Regions from separate parts of the Homo sapiens genome. Here region 1 is linked to region 2. Evidence: promoter capture Hi-C in 16 types of primary human blood cells and fetal thymus (Javierre and others, 2016). All regions are on one chromosome and are shown on one strand. Each heading gives the region's core, a stretch centred on a gene start or on the middle of the fragment in contact. The rest is flanking DNA. Distances are from core to core; before and after follow the strand shown. Region 1 holds the start of ACOT6 (acyl-CoA thioesterase 6). Region 2 holds the start of PAPLN-AS1 (PAPLN antisense RNA 1).

The links. The method cuts DNA at HindIII sites, captures the fragments that hold promoters and counts their contacts. A CHiCAGO score of 5 or more calls a contact.
Region 1: a contact is called between the fragment with the promoter of ACOT6 here and the fragment with the promoter of PAPLN-AS1 in region 2, in 3 of 17 cell types (erythroblasts, monocytes and total B cells). The highest score is 6.4, in erythroblasts.

Annotation. Positions count from the first base shown.
Region 1 is chr14:73,607,820-73,615,252 of GRCh38, forward strand. ACOT6 (acyl-CoA thioesterase 6) reads left to right here and starts at 4,698. Exons shown (of 3, transcript NM_001365788.1): 1 at 4,698-5,213. The coding sequence starts at 4,753. It also overlaps a transcript of HEATR4 not described here. RefSeq lists enhancers at 4,809-4,858, 4,876-5,375, 4,909-4,958 and a silencer at 6,034-6,278. The HindIII fragment of the contact is 17,987 bases long and covers 1-7,433 here.
Region 2 is chr14:73,241,894-73,249,381 of GRCh38, forward strand. PAPLN-AS1 (PAPLN antisense RNA 1) reads right to left here and starts at 4,108. Exons shown (of 2, transcript NR_135248.1): 1 at 3,631-4,108; 2 at 2,125-3,351. PAPLN (papilin, proteoglycan like sulfated glycoprotein) reads left to right here. Exons shown (of 27, transcript NM_001365906.3): 3 at 2,751-2,866; 4 at 3,743-3,803; 5 at 4,180-4,282. It also overlaps the pseudogene RNU6-419P. RefSeq lists silencers at 3,943-4,212, 6,681-6,760 and enhancers at 5,160-5,229, 5,368-5,869. The HindIII fragment of the contact is 12,638 bases long and covers 819-7,488 here.

The DNA.
Region 1 (7,433 bases), core at 3,448-5,947, 370 kb after region 2:
CACCATGTTTGCCAGGCTGGTCTCGAACTCCTGAACTCAGGTGATCCACCCACCTCGGCCTCCCAAAGTGCTGGGATTATAGGCATGAGCCACCATGCCCAGCGGGGTTTTCTTTTTTCTTTTGAGATAGAGTCTTGCTCTGTTGCCCAGGCTGAAGTACAGTGGTGCAATCTTGACTCACTGCAAGCTCCGCCTCCTGGGTTCAAGCGATTCGCCTGCCTCAGCCTCCCGAGTAGCTGGGATTACAGGCGCCTGCCACTGTGCCTGCCTAATTTTTGTACTTTTAGTAGAGATGGGGTTTCACCATCTTGGCCAGGCTGATCTTAACCTCCTGACCTTGTGACCCACCTGCCTTGGCCTCCCAAAGTGCTGGGATTACAGGCATGAGCCACTGTGCCCCGCCAGGGTTTTTCTTTTCTATAGCATAGTCAGTCTGCAAATTTTCCAAACTTTTATGCTCTGCTTCCTCTTGAACGCTTTGCTGCTTACATATTTCTTCTGCCAGTTACCCTAAATCATCTCTTTCAAGTTCAAACTTCCACAGATCTCTGGGGCAGGGGCAAAATGCCACCAGCCTCTTTGCATAGCAAGAGTGACCTTTACTTCAGTTCCCAACAAGTTCCCCATCTCCATCTGAGACCACCTCAGCCTGGACTTCATTGTTCATATCACTATCAGCATTTTGGTGAAAGCCATTTAATGAGCCTCTAGGAAGTTCCAAACTTTCTCACATCTTTCTGTCTTCTGAGCCCTCCAAGTCTCTAGGCAGTTCTAAACTTTCCCACGCTTTCCTGTCTTCTTCTGAGCCCTCTAAACGGTGCCAACTGCTGCCTGTTACCCAGTTCCAAAGTCGCTTCCACATTTTTGGGTATCTTTACAGCAGTGCCCCACTCTCTGTGATACTAACTTACTGTATTAGTCTGTTCTCACACTGCTAATAAAGACCTACCTGAGATGGGATAATTTACGAAGGAAAGAGATTTAATTGACTCACAGTTCAGCATGGCTGAGGAGGCCTCAGGAAACTTACAATCATGGCAGAAGGGGAAGCAAACATGTCCTTCACATGGCGGCAACAAAAAGTGCTGAGCAAAAGGGGGAAAGCCTTTATAAAACCATCAGATCGCATGAGAACTCACTCACTATCACCAGAACAGCATGAGACTAACCACCCCCATGATTCAATTTCCTCCCACCAGGTCCCTCCCAGGACATATGGGGATTATGGGAACTATAATTCAAGATGAGATTTGGGTGGGGACACAGCCAAACCATATCAGGTGTAATGCTAACCCTCTGTGTACAGGTTTTGTGAACGATATTGATTGTATGGGGGAGACTGAGCTCATGTCACTATGCCATCAATGAGAATTGGCTGGTGAATACCAATCCTCCATAGCCATGACTGGGTTGCTGAATAAAATGATGCAGTGTGCATCCAAAAGCTGCCTCTTCCTCTGTGGGTGATCTGGGAGTGAGCCAAACATGGGATGGACAATGTCATACCTGGAAAGCTGGCAGATGATGGGATCCTGGACATTGGGCATGCTGGGGGTGCTCCTGCATATCACCCCTGGGTACAAGAAACATCATTGGGCCAGTAGTCTAAAAGTATGCACCATGCTTATTAGGAACCTGCCAGGTCGTGGCTGATTCTAGGTTTAGGTCCTCTATGAAATTTTTGGTACCATATATAGGAGTCAGTGCTCATGAAAAAAATGATAAGAAAACTGTGCCTGATATTGCTGCTTCCAGTGCCACTGCCTTGGCAGCACAGGGACATCCTTCAACTCCCTTGGGAAGGTTGTTCTATTATTTATTTTATTTTATTTTATTTTTGAGACAGAATCTCGCTCTGTTACCCAGGCTGGAATGCAGTGGTGCGATCTCGGCTCACCACAACCTCTGCCTCCCGGGTTCAAGCAATTCTCCTGCCTCAGCCTCCCGAGTAGCTGGGACTACAGGCACGCACCACCATGCCTGGCTAATTTTTGTATTTTTAGTAGAGACGGGGTTTCACCATGTTGGCCAGACTGGTCTCAAACTCCTGACCTCGTGATCCACCCGCCTCAGCCTCCCAAAGTGCTGAGATTACAGGCATGAGCCACCGCGCCTGGCCAGGTTGTTTTAAACAACAGAATTCCTCTACCCTTTTTTTTTTTAGACTAATTGGGAGGAGTGTGTGCCACTGCCAACACCTCCTGGTGTACCTGGATAAACACCTCAGGCATGGTGGAGACATAGGTAGAGGATCTGGAAGCAGGCCTACTGGTTGCAGTCAGAGTGGCTACCTAAAGAATCTTTCTTGGACCTCAAAACTTCTTGCCTGGATCACTAGGACTTGGGGGTAGGCCACAGCTCCAAGCAAGCCTGATCATCCTGCTTATTATAGTAGTCTCCTGGGCCTAATGCAATATATTCCGGCCATGGCTTAACAATGTTGCACCGAGATTGTTTCAGTCAAGTGTCGCTTTTTTTTTTTTTTCTTTTAGAGGGAGTCTTGCTCTGTCGCTCAGGCTGGAGAGCAGTGGCGAGATCTCGGCTCACTGCAATCACCACCTCCCGGGTTCAAGCAATTCTCCTGCCGCCGCCTTCTGAATAGCTGGGATTACAGGCGCGTGCTGCCACGTTCAGCTAATTTTTGTATTTTTAGTAGAGACAGGGTTTCACCATGTTGGCCAGGCTGGTCTCAAACTCCTGACCCCAAGTCATCCGCCCCCCTCGGCCTCCCAAAGTGCTGGGATTACAGGCATTAGCCACCGTGCCCGACCAAGGTGCCATATTAATATGATCAGACAAACCTCTGCCTCCAGATCCTGGGGGTCTGGAGGGCATATGAAATGTACTAGGTTTACTAAAGGAGGTATCTGGGTTGGGGATGGACTGCAGGGCAGTTCTCTGGTTGGCCTTGGACTGACTCAGTTCTCCCCTCTTTCTCACTAGTAGTTCTCAAGCATAGAACGTGCTGGGAATGTAACATCCTGAGAGAGGGACGGACTGGCTGGAATAGCCCTGGCTCTATTCCAGCCCCTCCCTACAAACAGGATGTCTTTCAATGCTTTAACCCAGCAGTCACATGACCCCAGAGTACAAAACTCAGGGCAGCTGCAGTGCAAGTGGGGCACACACACATGAGATTCCATCACCCAGGCAGCATTCCTGAGCCTTGGGGGACTGGTTTCCAATGATTCTTAGGCTTCTGTCATTCTTTGCTGCCTATCTGTAAGTAATAAATCCAGTTCATGTAAATTGTTGTATTAAATATATGAATGTGTTTTCTCACTGGACTCAGACAAGTTGGTAACCAGCATACAGTGAACTTGCTTCATAGAGTCTAATACCTTTTTGTTCAGTTTATACATGTTTACTGAGCTGGGCATCACTATATGCTCTTCTTCCTTCTCCACCCTGCTATGTTCCCAGCTAGGTTGAGCTGTGTGGTTGGGTTTGGCCAAAGAGAGGCATTAGCAAGATACTGAAAAACAAGAGGAGAGTCAAGGGACTTATAGTCTCCTCCTTCCTGCCACAAACCATAGGTTCCTTCTAAAAAAGGTACAACTCCTATCAGACTGCCCCCTTCCCTTGAACCTTCAGATTCAGGGTTCTACACCGAATCTTGTTTCATTGTTTTTGTTTTTAAATCTTGCCCATGCCTTTGTAGATAGTACCTTTATAAAACTCTCCTCAATTACACAGGCTGAGAGTGCCACTTGCTTACTGCCAGAACTCTGTATGCATACAACCCAAAATGGACTCTGCCAGTGATTAGATTTGTGAGGTAAGAAACAAAACAAAACTTTCACTGGGTACTAACCTACAGGTGTGTCAGTGTAGTGTTTTTACACATTAGCCCATTTAATGGTCACAATAAGCCTTTTCAGATAAGAAAACTGAATTTAGAGGGTTATGTTTCTTGCTAAAGATCACCAGGTATTAATATTAAGGATCAGGGTCAGACCAGAACTCGGCTAGGTCTGCCTCCCTAAACATCTGCTTTGCTCCAGGTACCATTAGCCCTGGAAAAAAGGCTTGGTAAGGGACTGAGGGGTAAAGGACGGATTACGACCATGTTTCTCCAAGGGGTCACCTGAGTACAATCACCTGGGATGCTTTTTCAAAATCTAGATTCTTGGACTGTATCTCTCTCAATCCTTTAGCTCTCAGTGGTTTTTGTGCCTCTATTTCGACACTCACCACATTGGATTGCAGGAATAGTCATTAACTCTTTTTTTTTTTTTTTAGACGGAGTTTTGCCCTTGTTGCCTAGGCTGGAGTACAATGGTGCAATCTTGGCTCAATGCAACCTCTGCCTCCTGGGTTCAAGCAATTCTTCTGCCTCAGCCTCCCAAGTAGCCGGGATTACAGGCATGCGCCACCACACCTGGCTATTTTGTATTTTCAGTAGAGATGAGGTTTCACTCTGTTGGTCAGGCTGGTCTTGAACTCCTAACCTCAGGTGTGATCCACCCACCTCGGCCTCCCAAAGTTCTAGGATCACAGGCGTGATCCACCGCCCCCGGCCGGATTGGTCATTAACTCTTATTTCAGCAGATACTCTTTCATTTGGGACACTGGTGTATTTGCACAAATTCTAGGCGCCCCACGCAGCGGCCTGGAGCCTGTCCCCAAGTCCAACCAATGGGAGTAGTGTTAAGGGCTCCGCCCTCGACTACTTTCCAGCGCTCGGCAAAGCCGCCAGGCCCGCCCACTGACTCCGCGGAGCTGGGTCGCCCCTGTTCTACCCAGATTGGGATGGCAGCGACGCTGATCCTGGAGCCCGCGGGCCGCTGCTGCTGGGACGAGCCGCTGCGCATCGCAGTGCGCGGCCTGGCCCCGGAGCAGCCAGTCACGCTGCGCACGTCCCTGCGCGACGAAGAGGGCGCGCTCTTCCGGGCCCACGCGCGCTACCGTGCCGACGCCCGCGACGAGCTGGACCTGGAGCGCGCGCCCGCGCTGGGAGGCAGCTTCGCGGGGCTCCAGCCCATGGGGCTGCTGTGGGCGTTGGAGCCCGAGAAAGCCTTGGTGCGGCTGGTGAAGCGCGACGTGCGGACGCCCTTCGCCGTGGAGCTGGAAGTGCTGGACGGCCACGACACCGAGCCCGGGCGGCTGCTGTGCCTGGCGCAGAACAAGCGCGACTTTCTCCGGCCGGGGGTGCGGCGCGAGCCGGTGCGCGCGGGCCCGGTGCGCGCCGCGCTCTTCCTGCCGCCGGATGAGTAGTCTGCCCAGAATTTGGTCGAGCTCTGCGACCCCCACCGGCCCCTTTCCTGTCCTGGGAATCGCGTGATTGTGGAACATCCCTGAACTTGTTCCTTCGCTCCAGAGTCTGTCATGGATTCTGAGTCTGGGCGTCCGCTGTTGCCCAGGCTGGAGTGCCGTGGCTGGATCGTAGCTCACACTGCAGCCTCGAACTCCTGGGCTCAAGTCCTCTCGCCTCAGCCTCCTGAGTAGCTACTCCAGTCTTTCCTTTTTAAGTTTCACGTCCCTCCCTGGAGGCACCACCACTTTAGCTATGTGCTGAATAGTGCATTCAACTTATTATATATTTATTGAGAGCCACTATGTGCCAGCCATGTGGTTTTGTTTGAATACGATATGGGCAAAACCTTAAGCTGATGTGCAAGAAGGATTTTTGCCTCCTTTCACATCAAACTTCCAAAGAAGCTAAAATCCACAGTATTGGCAATGCCCTTTAATTGTTTAAAAACACACACAAAACTGCCTGACAGTCCTCTCCCTTCTATCATAAACATGCTGTACGTGGTTCTCAACCTGCAATGATTAGCCGCCCTCCCTGGGGGAAATTTGGCAATATCTGGAGACATTTGTGGTTGTCATATCTGAAGGGAGAGGTGCTATTGGCATCTAGCAGGCAGAGGCCAGAGATGCTGCTAAACATTCCACAATGCACAGGACAACCACCAGAACAAAGAATTATCTTGCTGAAAATGTCTGTACTACTGAGGTTGAGGAACCCTAGTCTAAGTAAACACAGGATGTTTGCTAGGTAAAGGTAGCCCAGAAAGAAGACTCCTGATTAATCCCTTCTAACTAAATTCCTGACTTAAACCTCTACCATATAAAAATGATGAGCCGGGCACAGTGGCTCAGGCCTGTAATCCCAGCACTTTGGGAGGCTGAGGTGGGCAGATCACTTGAGCCCAGGAGTTCAAGACCAGCCTGGGCAACATGGTGAAACTCTGTCTCTACAAAAAAAAAAAAAAAAAAAAAAAAATTAGGCAGGCATGGTGGTGCATGCCTGTAGTCCCAGCTGCTTGGGAGGCTGAGGTGGGAGGATTGTTTGATATCAGGAAGTAGAGGTTGCAGTGAGCTGAGATCACGCCACTGCATTCCAGCCTGGACAACAGAGTGAAACCCTGCCTCAAACAACAACAACAACAACAAATTCTAGAGTTGCAACAGCACATAGAATCCTTAAACCGAATTCTGTGATTATTCTCCAAAACAAGAAAACTTGCTTTATTTTTACAGCTCTTCAGCAATTCTTAGCCTTAACTCGTGGCTGCCCACTGTACTGTGAATTCCTGGGGCTGGAATTGGGTCTTACAGATTTCTAAATATCCATGTTCCTAGAGGCTTTCGCAAGGATATAGTAGGAGCTCAATAAATCATACTGACTGGGCCAGGCGCAGTGGCTCACACCTGTAATCCTAGCACTTTGGGAGGCTGAGGTGGGTGGATCACTTGAGGCCAGGAGTTCAAGACTAGCCTGGCCAACATGGCAAAACCCTACCTCTACTAATTATATAATACAAAAAAATTAGCCAGGCATAGTGGCTCACACATGTAGTCCCAGCTACTAGGGAGGCTGAGGTGGGAGAATCGCTTGAACCCGGGAGGCTGAGGTTGCAGTGAGCCAAGATTGCGCCACTACACTTCAGCCTGGGCGACAGAGCGAGACCCTGTCTCAAAAAAAAAAAAAAAAAAATCACACTGACTAAGAATCAACTAAAACCTTTCATTAAAAACAAACAAGGAGCCGGGCGCAGTGGCTCACGCCTGTAATCCCAGCACTTTGGGAGGCCGAGGCAGGTGGATCACCTGAGGTCAGGAGTTCGAGACCAGCCTGACCAACATGGTGAAACCCCGTCTCTACTAAAAATACAAAAGTTAGCCGGGCATGGTGGTGGGTGCCTGTAATCTCAGGAGGCTGAGGCAGGAGAATCTCTTGAACCCAGGGGGCAGAGGTTGCAGTGAGCCAAGATCGCACCGTTGCACTCCAGCCTGGAGGACAGAGCAAGACTCCATCTCAAAAAAAAAAACAAGGCGGCCAGGCGCGGTGGCTCACGCCTCTAATCCCGGCACTTTGGGAGGCCAAGGTGGGTGGATCACGAGGTCAGGAGTTCAAGACCAGCCTGGCCAAGATGGTGAAACCCTGTCTCTACTAAAAATACAAAAAATTAGCCGGGCATGGT
Region 2 (7,488 bases), core at 2,858-5,357:
CCCTGGAAACAGTGCAGCAGGAAAGGGGACCCCTGAGTGGCTCCAGGTGGGAGTTGAAGGAGGCATGGGTGGGGCGCCTAGCGCAGCATGAGACAGGTGAGGGCAGGCCCCAGGTGAGGCTGGCTGTATCAGCTCATTCCGGCTTCACGCCATGTCGGGCAGTTCACGGTTTGGGTAATTACAGAGCAAGAGTGTGCTCATGCTGCCTGTGGCTGAAGGTGCTTTCCTTCCTTGGAGAGACAGTGTGGAGTGTGTGGACAGAGCACGGCTCTAGGATGGGACGGACTAGGGCTCCTGGCTAGTGGACACCTGCCTTACAGGTGCTGGGCACAGGAGGCAAGAGGGCATTCTGGAAACAGCATGTCCCTTAGGGGGCCCTTGTTCAGGCCAGTCCTGCCCCTGCCTTATCCTGATGGCCAGGCTGTGGCTCCATGGCAGGGGTACCCCTTGGCCACACACCAGTACACCCAGCCCAGCTCCAGGGAAGGGTGGATTTTGCTGGCTGCTGTGCCAAGGAGCCAAGACAGACATCCAAACAGGCCTTAGTCAGAGGGTAATTGACAACCAGGCCCAACCCAGCAGCTAAGAAAGCAGCCACCCCTGAAGACCTCTCCTGAATACTTAAAATGTGGGATGAGGCTGTGTGTGGGGGGGGCGGGTGCCAGAATCCCAGCTGGGGCTGCAGGCTGTCTCTGGAAAGTCACCCTTCACGCTCAACACTCAGTGTCTTCCTTGTGAAATAGAAACTTGATCCAAGTAAATTTCAGTTTAACTTTCATTCAGAGAAAACTTTGATATTTTGGCTCAGTGGTTTCGAAAGCTTAGAGATTTTTGTCCAAGTTAGACTTGAAGGAGTAGATATTTTACAAAGTGAAAGCTAAGACCTCTCATCTGGCAAGCCCTTCCTTCTTGGTTGTGTGTGGTTCGGCAGGCTTAGCGTGGTTTGTGCGTGGTTTGTTCTGCTTCAGTGTTCTGGGTTTTGTTATAAGACAAGGATAACTAGATGTTTGGCACCAGGGATGTTAGAGATGAGTAAACGTCCTTCCTCACCTGAGATTCAGCGAAGCTGCTCAGGGGTCACCATGAAAGCAAGAGCCTGCTTTTCTTTTCTTTTTTTGAGATGGAGTCTCACTCTGTCGCCCAGGCTGGAGTGCAGTGATGCAATCTCGGCTCACTGCAACCTCCACCTCCCGGGTTCAAGCAATTCTCCTGCCTCAGCCTCCCGACTAGCTGGGATTACGGGCACCCGCCGCCACGCCTGGCTAATTTTTTGTAGTTTTAGTAGAGACGGGGTTTCGCCATGTTGGGTAGGCTGGTCTCGAACTCCTGACCTCAGGTGATCTGCCTGCCTTGGCCTCTCAAAGTGCTGGGATTACAGGCATGAGCCACCGTGCCCGGCTGCTTTTCTGTGTGACCATTGAGCTCTTTCTCTGAAAAGTGGGAATGGTATTTTTCCTTGAGTCTTAAGTGGTGATACCCTAAAAGAAAGTCCCCTTCCAGCAAATGTTTGCATGTACACCATATGCCTCCTGGGAAAATTGTGAAGTTACATCTAATCCCTGTCCAACCCTGTAGGGAATCATCTAGTGTCTCATTTGATTCCCCCAGGTGGGTGGGGGCACAGCCTCGGCAGGGGAGCAGAGGACTGCAGTGAGGCTGGCCGGCTACTGTGCCCACTTCTTCCCCTGTGGTTTCCTCTCTCTGCCTCACTTTTCTTATTCATGCAATGGGGTCTGTCGGGTTGTTGTGAGGATGAAATGAGATAATGTGTGTGTGGCATGTGGATTCCTGATGCCAGCTGCAAGGGGTCCAATCTTTCTGGTGGGAAAGTGTACCTGCTAGGATTATAATCCTGTGTAGAGTCCCAAATAACAGTTCTTCAATAAGACAGACATGATTCCTCTCTCATATAAACACCCAGGGGTCAGAAGTCTGGGGCTATTCTGTTGCACAAAATCCTCCAGGCTCTAGAGTCCCTCTATCTTTGCTTCACTGTTTGAAGCCTCTATTTCCAAGTTACCTCACAGTCTAAAAGGCTGCTCCAACTCCAGCCATCACATCTGCTTCCCAGACAGCCTGAAAGAGTACAGGAGGAAGGAGAAAAGGACAAAGGCTCACGCAGGCTCTCTCTTGAGGAGATTATTTGCGGCAGCTGCCCAACACTTGTATTTACATCTCACTGATGAGAACTAAGTGATGTAGCCACAGTTAGCTGCAGGCAGTCCAGGAAATGTATTTTTTTTTTAAATTTTGGGCAGCCAGGTACCCAGCTGAGTCAAGTTTTCAAGCATTCTCTCACAATGGGAGAAGGAGGGGATGAATATTGGGGTACTCCTGGGAGTCTCGGCCAGATTAGCAGGATCCCCCCACGTTGCTTCCCTTTATTTTCTTTTAGGCCCCCCTCCCCTACATCACGGTTAACCTACAAATGCCTGGACCCTCAAACTGCCCCTGGCTGTAGGGTCCCTCCCCTCCAGTGGCCCCTGAAACTCCAAACTCTTCCCAGCTGCTCCTGCTCCCGCCCTCCAGGCCTGGCTCTCAGCTCCTTATGAGGAAAGCAGGCTAATTCTGAAAAGGAATATGTTTTGGGGTGCCCGGCAGTGTTGCTGAGTCCTAAAGGTGGGCCCTGGAAGGGAGAATCCCAGACTCCTTGATGGGTAGGGGAGGGTTTTAGGCAGAGCATCTTTGGAGGGGCCTCTGGGCTCAGGCTGTGAGTGGGCAATGCTGATGCATGGTCCTGTCTTCTGCAGGCTCCCAAGGTGAGGCGGCAGAGTGACACCTGGGGACCCTGGAGCCAGTGGAGCCCCTGCAGCCGGACCTGTGGAGGGGGTGTCAGCTTCCGGGAGCGCCCCTGCTACTCCCAGAGGTAGGAGAGATGAAAATGGGCCAGCTTGTTAAAGCAGGAGCAGGGGATGCTGCCTTCTGGGTGGTGGGCTAGGTGGTCGTGGCCTAGGCTAGCACTGGCCACATCAGCAGAACCCACCAAGGAGCAGATTCATTCTGGAAGCAGCATCAGTTCAGCGCAGGAAATCAAACCATTTCCCAGGGCCTTCCACTCTGAGCTGGAGCACGCGTGCTGCCTGTTGCCCCTGGTCTCCAGCTCCTGATGCTGCACCGGCCTGCAGTATGGCAGGTGCAGTCAATTTTGCTGGAACTGGTAAATAATCTTCAACCGGCAGTTCCCAATTCCTGTGGTTTCTTTACCGAGTACAGATGTTCCCCACTTCAAGCGATTTATTAAATGCTTGCTGTGTGTGCTGCACTCCGGCAGGGTCAGTGGAGAAGGTGGGGCACAGAAGGAGTAGTGAGGTGCCTCTGTCCCGGTTTGTATAGGGGTTGTTCCTGAGAACCCTATGTGAGGAGGAATGAGAGACCAGGAATGATCCTAAGAGCCTTATACTGATGTCCTGCTTAGATCGCAGGATGGCTGTGCCAAGCGGGTGGGTATTATATCTCATGCACCTCGGGTCTTCTCTGGGAATCTGCCTAAGATGCAGTGGAGTGGTCCCGCCTTAAATCCAAACTATAGGGTGGGTAGGGCTCTGAGTCCCGCTTCTCTGGAGTACCAACATGGGTCGCTCACTCCCACCTGGGGGATTTACGGGGTGGGGTCGGGGGACACCCTCTCACCTTGCTGCTCCCACTGGAGAGTCCCGCAGAAGTTGGGGCCTGCAGAGAGCCCCAGAACGGGGGCAGGGACGTTGGGTCTCGGTCAGGTCTTCCCGGTGCTCTGGTCCCGCAGGAGAGATGGAGGCTCCAGCTGCGTGGGCCCCGCCCGGAGCCACCGCTCTTGTCGCACGGAGGTAAAGCTCACGGGGCGCGGGCGAAGGCACCAGCTTCCCCAGCCCCTCCTGGCCGATTTCCCCATTGGGATGCCCGCTCCTGGCCGCGGGCTGCTGGGTTGGCCCAGCCTGGGGTCCTCCCGCCAATCCACAGCAGGGCTGCGTGGGGGCCCCTTCCTCACCCTGCTCCCGGGGACTGGCCTTGCCCTCCACAGCCTAGAGCACCATGGAGGGGCACGCACAGGAGTTCGGGGGTCCGGGGGGCGGACTCCACCTCCGGCGGCTCCGATGGGGCAGGCAAGGGAGACTCCTGGGCTCCCTGGGCTCGGGCGGGGCGGGAGGTGGGCGGACCTCGGACTCCGCCCTCCTGGATCCCGACTTCCCCTCCGCCCCGCAGAGCTGCCCCGACGGCGCCCGGGACTTCCGGGCCGAGCAGTGCGCGGAGTTCGACGGAGCGGAGTTCCAGGGGCGGCGGTATCGGTGGCTGCCCTACTACAGCGGTGAGCGCGGCCGGGACTCGCTCTCTCGGGGCCTCTTGTATACCTACGTTGATGCCACAGTTCCTATTGCCGTATTATAGAGGCGTTGTCATATATATATATATTAGAGACAGTCTCACTGTGTTGCCCAGGCTGGTCTTGAACTCCTGGGCTCAAGGGATCCGCCGGCAGCGACCTCCCAGAGTGCTGGGATTGCAGGCGTGAGCCACTGTACCCGACCAATTTTTTTTTTTTTTTTTTTTTTTTTTTTTGGGTGGGCGCGGGGGCTCGCAATGTACAGGAAATCTTGTAGACCACAGGACCCACCTTTGGGGAGGAGAGGGTCTGCAGAGGTCCCTCGAGAGAGAGCAAGAGGTCTCTCTTTTTCTTTATCTTTTTTTCTTTTCTTTCTCTCTCGTTCTCTCTCGCTTGCTCTTTTTTCTCTCTTCCTTTCCTTTCCTTTTTTTCTTTTCCTTTTTCTTTCTTTCTTTTTTTTTTTTTTTTGAGACAGGATCTTGCCCAGGCTTGAGTGCAGCAGTGTCATGTCAGCTGGGCAGCATGTACCTCCCAAGCTCAATCAATCCTTCCACCTCAGCCTCCCAAATAATTTTTAAAGTAAATATGGAATGCTTCATGAATTTGCATGCCATACCAGCTAAGGGGGCAGGGGCTGTGCTAATCTCTGTATCGTTCCAATTTTAGTATATGTGCTGCCAGAGCCAGCATTTGTCAAATACCCCATCGATCAACCCATAATGAATCAATCACCAGTACCCCTGCTCCCCCCAGCACATGCCCGTGGCAACACCATGGCAGCCATTTTGAGGTCTTTCCATCCTTTCTCCCCTTATGTATGTATATTTTCAAACGAAGCTATGGTGTGTCTATACCATTTTGAGCCCTGTTTTTGCTCAGTCTGCTATGGGAAGCGTTCCTCCCGTCGCACAGAGACGGAGATGGGGAACCCCGGGAGCGGTAGCAATGGTGCCCCACGGTCATCCTGCAGGAGGGGCTGGAAGGGGCTTGGTACACCAAGACTTCATTTATCAAGGATCTGGGGGCCAGAGGAGATGGTCTGTGCACCTCTGAGGAGGGTATAAGTCATTAATTTTTAGAGAAATACAGTTCAGGGAAAAAACACCCAGGTAAGCACCAACATGTATGTCATTAAGCATTTTAGATGAATCAGAAGATTCCTCAAGACAAGTCTTCTGAGTGTTCGTTTTCCCTGCTTGCGGCAAATGACCTCTGGAGACCCTGTGGCACTCTAGATTCCAGATCAAGGAGCACTTATATTCTCTCTGTGTGTGTGTGGTGGGGATCGTGGCTGTGGGCATGGCCCAGTGGGAGTCTCATATCCTGTGTATGTGTGTGTGTGTGTTGTGGGGATCGTGGCTGTGGGCATGGCGCAGTGGGAGTCTCATGTCCTCTGTGCGTGTGTGTGTGTGTTGTGCCGATCGTGGCAGTGGGTGTGGCCCAGTGGGAGTCTCTTATCCTGTGTGTGTGTGCGTGTGTGTGTGTGTGTGTTGTGGGGATCGTGGCTGTGGGCATGGCCCAGTGGGAGTCTCATGTCCTCTGTGCGTGTGTGTGTGTGTTGTGCCGATAGTGGCAGTGGGCGTGGCCCAGTGGGAGTCTCTTATCCCGTGTGTGTGTGTGTGTGTGTGTGTGTGTGTGTGTGTGTGTGTGGTGGCGATCGTGGCTGTGGGCGTGGCCCAGTGGGAGTCTCATATCCTCCGTGTGTGTGTGTGTGTGTGTGTGTGTGTGTGTGTGTGTGTGTGTGTTGTGGGGACCGTGGCTGTGGGCATGGCCCACTGGGAGTCTCATATCCTCTGTGTGTGTGTGTGTGTGTGTGTGTGTGTGTGTGTGTGTGTGTGTTGGGATTGTGGCTGTGGGTGTGGCCCAGTGGGAGTCTCATATCCTCTGTGTGTGTGTGTGTGTGTGTGTGTGTGTGTGCGCGTGTGTGTGTTGTGGGGATCGTGGCTGTGGGCATGGCCCAGTGGGAGTCTCATATCCTCTGTGTGTGTGTGTGTGTGTCTGTGTGTGTTGTGGGGATTGTGGCTGTGGGCATGGCCCAGTGGGAGTCTCATATCCTCTATGTGTGTGTGTGTGTGTGTGTGTGTTGTGGGGATTGTGGCTGTGGGCGTGACCCAGTGGGACTCTAGCTTTCAGAATTCCCCCTGGATCCTGAAGTGGACACATGTCAAAAATAATTTGATTATAGTCACATGATAGAAAAATTGGAACACAGGGGAAAGTCTAAAAAGAGAGTAGAGGGATACCTTCCATGGTATGGAGATGATTATAATCCTGTTTGTACTTTTGGGTTGTTTTAAAATGTGTATATATTTAGATAAATATAAAAATTAAGGTAGGGTACAGTGGCTCATGCCCGTAATCCCAGCACTTTGGGAGGCTGAGGCAGGAGGATCACTTGAGTCCAGGAATTTGAGACAAGCCTGGGCAATGTGTGAAACCCCATCTCTACCAAAAATACGAAGATTAGCCAGGCATACAAAGATTAGCTAGGCATGGTTGCACACCCATGTAGTCCCAGCTATTCGAGAAGCTGAGGTGGGAGGATCACTTGAGCCCAGGAAGTTGAGGCTGCAGTGAGTCAAGATCACACCACTGCACTCCAGCCCGGACGACAGAGTGAGATCTTGTCTCCAAAAGAAGAAAAAAAAATTAAAACCAGGCCAGGTACAGTGGCTCCTGCTTGTAATCCTGGTGCTTTGGAAGGCTGAGGCAGGAGGATCATTTGAGCCCAGGAGTTTGAAACCAGCCTGGGTATCGTAGTGAGACCCTGTCTCTACAAAAAATAAAAAAATTAGCTGGGTATGATGGCATGTGCCTATAGTCCCAACTATTCGAGAGACTGAGGCTGGAGGACCACTTGAGTCTCGGAGGTAGAGGCTGCTGTGAGCTTTGATCGTGCCTCTGCATTCCAGCCTGGGAGACAGAGTGAGATCCCATCTGAAAAACATTAAAACCAGAAAAAAGTTATCCTCATCCTGCCCCTTTCACAAGATCACTGTTAGCATTTCATTTTAGCCCCTTTCACATTATTCTCTCCATATATGCTTACATATTTGTAATTATTGCATAGTAATCACCATTTTGCATTCTGTGTTTTAAGCATCTTCCCACACCATATAGTCTTCACAATCATCATTTGTAACTGCATAGTCAGCATGTGTAATATTCCATTGATAATTTATTTAAAGAGT